Regions from separate parts of the Homo sapiens genome. Here all the other regions are linked to region 1. Evidence: promoter capture Hi-C in 16 types of primary human blood cells and fetal thymus (Javierre and others, 2016). All regions are on one chromosome and are shown on one strand. The core of a region is centred on a gene start or on the middle of the fragment in contact, and the rest is flanking DNA. Distances in the headings are between cores, read along the strand shown. Region 1 holds the start of NMRK1 (nicotinamide riboside kinase 1). Region 2 overlaps LOC105376076 (a long non-coding RNA gene). Region 3 overlaps PTAR1 (protein prenyltransferase alpha subunit repeat containing 1).

Region 1 (2,700 bases), core at 201-2,700:
ATTGAAATACGTCAGTCCTTTCTAATTACCTACCCAAATGAATGAGCGGAACAGTATGTTACAACTTTTAATTAAAATACGTCAGTTTCTTTTACAATTATCTTATTTCTGCATATCACAGAAAATATTCTAAGAACAGAGCAAAAATGAACAAGGACAATCCGCCCAGAAAACTGCTTTGAGGAATTTAGTAATCTCAGCCCTCTCAGGTTTAGCACGCCAACGTCTTTGGGAGAGCAAAGGCAAAGGAGATGATAAAATGACACTTCCAAATAGCAACAGCTGAGATCACTGCCGCATCCTAGATTCTTTCCACCAGGAGCGCGAGTATAGGGTTTTTTTCTAAACGCTCTTCCCAAGATCCCGAGGTCAATTTCAAACGCTGCTCCACGCTTAAGTCCCGAGGGAGGCTCGCTCGCCCACCCCACCCTGCAGGGATTGCACTTCCCGTTCGCTCTGGCCGGTCAGGAACCCTAACTTGACAGTGACAAACACTGAGAAAAGAGGAAGTGGCTAAAGATCATTTCATGACATTTTTTAAAGGGAGATCAATGGCCCTGTCTTTCCGGAAAACTTCCATGGGACGTTGCCATCACACCCTCTGAAAGTTTCAGCGAATGACAACGTAGCAAAAGTGAGGGCTACTCCCCTTTAAATATATATATATATATTAATCCTCGAAATCCTCTTGCTATCAAAATCGATCCCTCCTCCGTAACAGCGAACGCAAAACTAAGAGCGCCCATCCCGGTGGGGCCGATCTCGGAAGCCAGGCTCGGGGCCGGGTGCGCGCCGGGTCCTCCCTGCCAAGCTGCAGAGGAGGCGCCGGCACCGCGGCGGTCGCAGGACCTGGCAAGCGCCTACCTTACCTCCCTCACCTGGTTTGACTGGTTTGGGTGGCGGCTTCGACATCTCGCTTCCTGGAGCTGCAAATCCTAAAGACCCCGCCGAAAAGCCCACCGCTTGCCCGCCACCTGGCACTCCGGGCACCCCAGTTCTTTTTGTCTGGCTTACAACCGTGCGCCTCCTAGGACCGGCGCCCACCCTTGGCTGCGGGAAGAGCGGACGCAGGCAGAGCGGCTCCGCCGAGTGCTCCGCCCCGCCCCGCGGCCGCCGGAGCAGTCCAGAGCGCGCGCCGGGCCGACGAGGAAGTGGACCCCGCCTAGCCGAGCGCTAATTGGCTCCCGGGCTGGCAGCTTCGCCGCAGCAGGAGCGCGGGCGGCGCGCACGGCGGCGGAACCAGCCGGAGCCGAGCGAGGGCGAAGCGGGCGTGCGCCAGTGCAGTGCCGCGGGCCGCGCGCGCTCCCGATAGGGAAGGGCCGGAGCTGCGCAGGGGCGCGCGGAAGAGGCCAAGCTAGCCGGAGCCCCGCCCCGCCCCGCCCCGCCCCAACGGGGGCTGGAACCCGGCGCCGAGAGTAGAGAAAAGGGGCCTCTGGTGACCGCCCCTACCTGGCATCCCTCTAACCCAGGAGGAGCGTGGGGAAAGGGGCTGTGGGCCTCTCGGGGAGCGAGCTGCGGGTAGCGGCGCACTGGGTACAGGCGCGCGCTTGGCTGTCGCCTCTGCCGCTGTGTTTGGGAGGACTCGAACTGGCGCCAGGTGAGTGCGTACCTGCTCGCCCCTGCCGCGCCGCGCCGCCTTGCTGGGGCCTGGAGGTGTTTCCAGAGGGTTTCTGTGCTGGAGCCCGGGACTTGGTTGCGCCCTGAAAGCCTTGCCTGGACTCTTGCCACCCTCACAGAGCTGATAGGTGGCCTGCCGAGGAGGACGTGTACTCATGGTGGCGTGGTGCTCTAGCGCCCCGGAATAATCCTGAAAATGGGAACGCTGCCTCCAAGAGACCGCGCAGCCTGGAGAAGTCGCCAGGGACAGGATCAGGACTTGATCCTCGCGGATCGATATGGTCTCATTCCTCTAGCGTTGGGGTGATGACCTACTGCCCGCCTGCTGCCTGTTACTGTAAGGCCTGCTAAGAATTTTTTTTTTTTTTACTTTTTTTAATGACTGAAAAGAAATAAAAAGAAATATAATACTTTGTGACACGTGAAAATTACATGAAATTACGATTTCAGTGTCCGTAAAATTTTACTGGAACACGGTCACGCTCATTTGCATCTGTGTTTTCTGTGGCCGCTTTCGCATTACCCAGCAGGGTTGAGTAGCAGCTGGCAAAGCCCAAAGCATTTCCTGTCTGGCACTTTACAGAAAAAGTTTTCCTACCCCTGATCTATCGGATTGAATCTTCGGTGGGAGGAAAGAACTGGAGCACACAAGGAAGCCAATGGCATAAGTTCAAAATAACAGTCAATATTGTAAATTAATTGTATATTTGGGGAAAGAAAAAACTGTTTACCTAAGAACCTACATAAATGAAACCAATGGGGGAGGGGCATGAATTGCGTTTTCAAAAACCCCAGCCCTTCACGTCTGTAATCCCAGCACTTTGGGAGGGCAAGGCGGGTGGATCACGAGGTCAAGAGATCAAGACCATCTTGGCCAACCTGGTGAAACCCGATCTCTACTAAAACTGCAAAAAATTAGCCGGGCGTGGTGGCAGACGCCTGTAGTCCCAGCTACTCGGGAGGCTGGGGCAGGAGAATCACTTGAACCCAGAAGGCGGAGGTTGCAGTAAGCCGAGATTGCGCCACTGCACTCCAGCCTGGCAACAGAGCGAGACTCTGTCTTAAAAAAAAAAAAAAAACCCA
Region 2 (2,700 bases), core at 47-2,546, 5.3 Mb after region 1:
CCACCCTTAATCTGGTGGGCACAACCTAATCAGCTGCCAGCGAATATAAAGCAGGCAGGAAAAAAACTCAAAGGACAAGATGGGCCTAGCCTCCTAGTCTACATCTTTCTCCTGTGCTGGGTGCTTCTTGCCCTTGAACATCGGACTCCAAATTCTTCAGTTTTGGGACTCAGACTGGCTTCCTTTCTCCTCAGCTTCAGACAGCCTATTATGGGAGCTTGCGATCATGTAAGTTAATACTTAATAAACTCCTGTCTCTCTCAGTATATATATATATTAATAGGATATATTATATCCTATAGGATATAATATATCCTATTAGTTCTCTCCCTCTAAGAGAACCCTGACTAATACAATGTATGAACTAATTATACAGGAATTAGCAAAATTTGGTAATTGATGATAAAGAAGTTTGGGGAAGAGGTATGAGGAGAGACCTCTCTGAATAGGCATAGATTCTGGTGTTATTTGTGTTCCATATGAATGCTCAAAAAAGGCCATCCATTGCAGAAAATGTTCAATAATCAGGACAAAGTGTTCTATTCGACGGCTGATACTCAGCCTCTTTCCCTAGCCATGACAATGTTTGCTTTATGGGCTCATGATGATAGTGGCCATAGAGATTATACCTATGCGCAATAATGCAGGTTTTATTCCCCCTCCAACCCCCATGCAAAGCTGATCTTGTTAGAGTCATTGCTAGGTGCCCAAGCTTTCAACAACAGGGACCAAAAGTAACCGACAAGCTACCTGATGGCAGGTTGTTTACAATGGATTCTTCCATCATCAGGACAGCAATTTGACGTTTTCCTGCCCCAGTTTCTTCATCACTATCCATAGATATACTGAATGCCTTGTTTACAGTCATGATACCTGATATGGTTTGGATATGTGTGCCCTTTAAATCTCATGTTGAAATGTCATTTCCTACCTCATTAATATATACATATAACTACTATGTATTCAGAAAAAATAAAAATAAAAACAGTTTTTTTAAAAAAGAAATGTGGTCTCCAGTGTTGGCGGTGGAGCCTGGTGGGAGTTGTTTGGATCATGGGAGACAGATCCCTCATGAATGGTTTGGTGCTATCCCCTTCATTAGGGAACTGTAGCTCTGAGTTCACATGAGATCTGGTTGTTTAGAAGTGTGTGGAACCTCCCCCTTTTCTCTCTTACTCCCACTCTCACCACGTAAGACACCTGCTCCATTTTTGCCTTCTCCATGATCGTAAGCTCCCTGGGGCCTCCCCAGACACCAAGCAGATGCCAGCATCATGCTTCCTGTAAAGCCTGTGGAATCATGAGTGAATTAAACCTCTTTCCTTTATAAATTACCCAGCCTCAGGTATTCCTTTTCAGCAATGCAGGAACAGCCTAATACAGTACCCCAATTAACACATGATAGGTTTTCTTTTCAAGACAGGCAAAGCACCACCTTCTATCCCGTATTCTCTTCTGCAATGTGACCTTCACACTATCCCATGGGACTTCCTCCATCCCCTTGATTCTGGGGAAGTACTGTGACCGCTTTGACCATTTTGATATTGCAAAATTGATGCTGTACCCTTAACCAACCTGAGCTCTCATTTCCTGCCTCTTGGAAGTTAGCTGCTGTGTATAATTTCCTGAGCTCACTATGCACTGAAAAGCCCTGGAGCATGAGATGCCAGTTGAAAAGAGAGAACAAGAAGCACCACGGCACCAGACATGTGAGTAAAGAAACAATCAGACATCTAGGCCAGTCAAGGCTTTTGATGACTTCAGCCCCAGCCATTATCTTTCTGTAACTGCATGACACTAACCAACAACTGCCCAGTTGGTCCCAGTCAATCCACAGAACTGCCAGAAATAATAATATTGTTTTAAGCCACTAAGCTTGAGGTTTATTTGTTACACAACAATACATAACTAGCATACCTAATTTTTGACCAATGAACTCATTTTAAAACAAAAGGAGCACAGGAATAGGGTTCATACCCATGGGATTCACTGACCATAACATACCCCACCATTCTAAAGCAGTTTACTTAATTAGGCAGCAGAATGACCTACTGAAGTCTCAAATACAGTGCTAGATTGGGCAGCACAATGTGGGTTGTGGTGCTGTCTTACAAGATCGATATGCAATCTGAAGCACCATCCAGTGCATTATGTCATATTTTCCATACCTAGAATACATGTATCCAGGGACCAAGGGCCAGTGGCTTCTCTTACCATTACCCCTAATGAACCTCACAATTTTTTTCACTCACCAAAGCAAAATGAGTGAACTGTACTGAATTGTCTGTTGGCAACTTGGGATTGTCACCCAGGCATTATCATTACCCCTTTCTAAATTCTCCTTCATAACATAGCAGAGTTTGCTAGTAAGAACACAAGATTTGGAAAGCAGAAAGAAGAGACCATTATTCTCCAGGGACAGTTGCAAGGAGAAGCATGTACAGAGAGCCAGCATGAGGTCTGACACCCTTCCAGATGAGTTTCTTGAGAAACACTTGAGTAGGTGCCATAAAAAGGCTGGTAGGAGCTTCCTAGAGGTTCTTGAGACTTGAAGTAGCTTCTGGACAAGGTATAGTCCCCTGTTTTATTGCTGAAGACTGAGATATTTGATGACGGTTCCCCTGACTTGTTACCTCACCCTTCCAACAGGTATGTAAGCCTCAAATGACTTATATTAAACCCTTCTTACTTAGAATACAG
Region 3 (2,700 bases), core at 28-2,527, 5.3 Mb after region 1:
AAGTGATTTGCCCAAGAATTCCCAGTAAGTGATGGAGCTGGGCTCTGTCTGAACCCAGTAGCTGCTGTTGCTCTCTTAGGGAGAGACCTGCCAGTAGAGGAAGTGTTACTTTGATAAGTCTTCCTGTATCTTCACATAACCATAAAATGAAAAGCGGGGACTTAAGTACTTGCTGTGTTAGTTTTTGCCTTGTGCTGCTGTACAGAAGTCTCTCATGGAGGATGGACTTCTTGTCTTCACTTGTGATGGAGGGAGGAAGGAAATTGTGTTAGAAGTACAAACAAATAGCAGCTACCATTGGTCAGACACATTTTCTTTAATGTAGAAAGGGAGATTCCAAGGGACTATGCTAATTTACCTAGGTAGAATAATCACTTTTTAGAAAATTGTAGATGTCAAAAGAAATTCCAGAGGCTTTCCCATCATTTACAAACCTTTCCATGTAACTACTTGACTACAAAGGGGTTTTTTGTTATTGCTGCGTATTTTACAAGTTTGGAAATTTAGACAGTTTTACTAAAGGAACAACCTCCTCATTATTCCAGACTTCCTTACTTATGTTGAAAATACTCATTTCTTTGTCAGTCAGTGATGGCGTTTAATTGTACTCACTGTGTGTCAAAAAGCTGTGGAGAAATGGAATGAATTTCATTGCTCACAACACCATGAGGTTGATGTTTCACTGAGGTTTCACTGAGTGAGTCCTTGTTTCACTGAGGTTCCAAGAGGTTAGGTTATGTAGGTAGTAAGTGGAGAAGCTGGGATTCAAACCCAGGTAGTATGGCTTTAAGGAAGGCCTATCCTCTTACCACTCCTCTGTGCTGTGGTCAGACATGGAGCTGCTTTTGGCCAGGGACTGTGCTTACTCATCTTCAGCCAGCTCAGTACCTGGCTTATTGTAGATGCTTACAAAATTTGTTGAGTGAATGAATAATTTGAACATGTATTAGAGAGGACCTGCGTGCAAAAAATTTGTGGTCCAGTTAAGAGGACAATATTTATGTAAGTAACAAAAGTAAGATACGCATAAAACAGATGAGGCCAGGTGCAGTGGCTCACACCTGTAATGCCAGCACTTTGGGAGACTGAGGCGGGTGGATCACCTGAGCTCGGGAGTTCAAGACCACCCTGGGCAACATGGTGAAACACCGTCTCTACTAAAATACAAAAAATTATCTGGGCATGGTAGCACGCGCCTGTAGTCCCAGCTACTGGGGAGGCTGAGGCATGAGAATCGCTTGAGCCTAGGAGGCAGAGGTTGCAGTGAGCCAAGATTGTACCACTGCACTCCAACTTGTACTACAAAGTGAGCCTCCGTCTCAGAGAAAAAAAAAAAAAAGCAGAGATGAAAGATTTTTTTCCAACTAGGTAGGTTAGGAAAGCCTTTAAACTTTTTTTTTGTTAAATATTAGGAGACGGGAAGACATGAGCCAGAAAGAATAGCAAGCAGGTAAATCTGAATTATGTTCCGAGAAAAGAAGGTAGGCGGGTAGGACGTGTGTTCATAGGACAGTGGAGTTTGACTCAGGTGGAATGTAACATGTAAAGGAAAGTAATGGAAGGCCAAGCTGATCAGGAGATTGAGACCAGGTTTCAGAAGGTTTCACTTCCTGGTACATTTTACCAGTACCTTGTGTTGTAGTCATGCTCTGGTATCCATAATCTCTTAGAGAGCAGACTATGTGTGAAGTTCCATGCATTTTTATCTTTGCTCATACTTTTTCCAGTATGGTAAGGTGGTGCCGTGACCACTTTATTTATTTACAGTCTTCCATGTATAATTCCACTAAGAATTAATTGCAGCTTCTTTGGTGGGCCCCAAAATGTGGTTTATGTTTCTACTTCATAATTATTTTGCCTTATATAATTATTTGTTTATATAGTCTCTCCAACTTGAAGATAACCTAGAGGCAAAATTAGGTCTTGTTTATCATTACATTCAATCACTCAGTCCTAAGGGCCTACTTTAATCTTTGTCCATAGTCAATACTTGGAATATTTGTGGAATTAAATGAATAGTGACATAGAATATTATATTTATTTTTCTTGATAAACATTAAGTTAGTGCCAAAAACTACTAAAAGTAAAAAAATGAAGAGGTTAATTATTCTTCATAGGCATATTGTGTTGTAATGTATGTAATGACTTGGAGGTCAAAATAAATGTGTACTGATCCTACTGTTTGTTGCTCATTTGAATTGAATATTCCAATATGCTCACTAGTAATGAAATCATGGGCCCCAAATAAATGTTAATCTCCTATTAAGATAGAATAAAATAATTGATTTTATTGTTAGCTAGAATATTTTTAAATGACTATTGGATGTGTTTATGTGTATTTGCTCTTAGATATTAAAAAGTTTATATTTTACTTAAACACTGAAAATGTCCCAATTATTGTAGGCAGACATTTTGTTTGCAGCATAATTGACTTGTTGGAAACAATTTTGATGTTGACTTTGCCACATGCTAATTGGGTGACTACGGGCAAATTGCTTAAATTGCAGAATTTCAGTTTCCCTATCTGAAAAGTGGGATAAGAATATTTTGGATTGTGATTATGAGAATTTAGTGAAATAATATAAAATAAAGTGCTTACTGCCATGCCTCATACACAGTAATGCTAAATAAATGGTAATAATTATTTGTATTGTTTTATTACATGACATTTAATAAGAGCTTGGTAGGGTTGCCTTAATT

Evidence for each region. Contacts are between HindIII fragments. The CHiCAGO score rates a contact against its expected background, and 5 or more counts as called.
Region 2: a fragment that was not itself captured here is called in contact with the fragment with the promoter of NMRK1 in region 1 in 1 of 17 cell types (total B cells); the score reaches 8.9 in total B cells.
Region 3: a contact is called between a fragment that was not itself captured here and the fragment with the promoter of NMRK1 in region 1, in 1 of 17 cell types (total B cells). The highest score is 8.9, in total B cells.

Annotation. Positions count from the first base shown.
Region 1 is chr9:75,086,905-75,089,604 of GRCh38, reverse strand. It overlaps NMRK1 (nicotinamide riboside kinase 1), which reads left to right and starts at 1,450. Exons shown (of 9, transcript NM_017881.3): 1 at 1,450-1,597. OSTF1 (osteoclast stimulating factor 1) reads right to left here and starts at 1,091. Exons shown (of 10, transcript NM_012383.5): 1 at 879-1,091. The coding sequence starts at 912. RefSeq lists silencers at 701-790, 981-1,580. The HindIII fragment of the contact is 4,153 bases long and covers 1-2,700 here.
Region 2 is chr9:69,768,056-69,770,755 of GRCh38, reverse strand. All of the region lies in intron 1 of LOC105376076 (a long non-coding RNA gene), which reads right to left. Among named protein-coding and RNA genes, the nearest start is that of PTAR1, 9.4 kb to the right of the region's middle. The HindIII fragment of the contact is 1,163 bases long and covers 715-1,877 here.
Region 3 is chr9:69,743,025-69,745,724 of GRCh38, reverse strand. The region is part of intron 2 of PTAR1 (protein prenyltransferase alpha subunit repeat containing 1); the gene reads left to right. Among named protein-coding and RNA genes, the nearest start is that of PTAR1, 16 kb to the left of the region's middle. The HindIII fragment of the contact is 5,082 bases long and covers 1-2,700 here.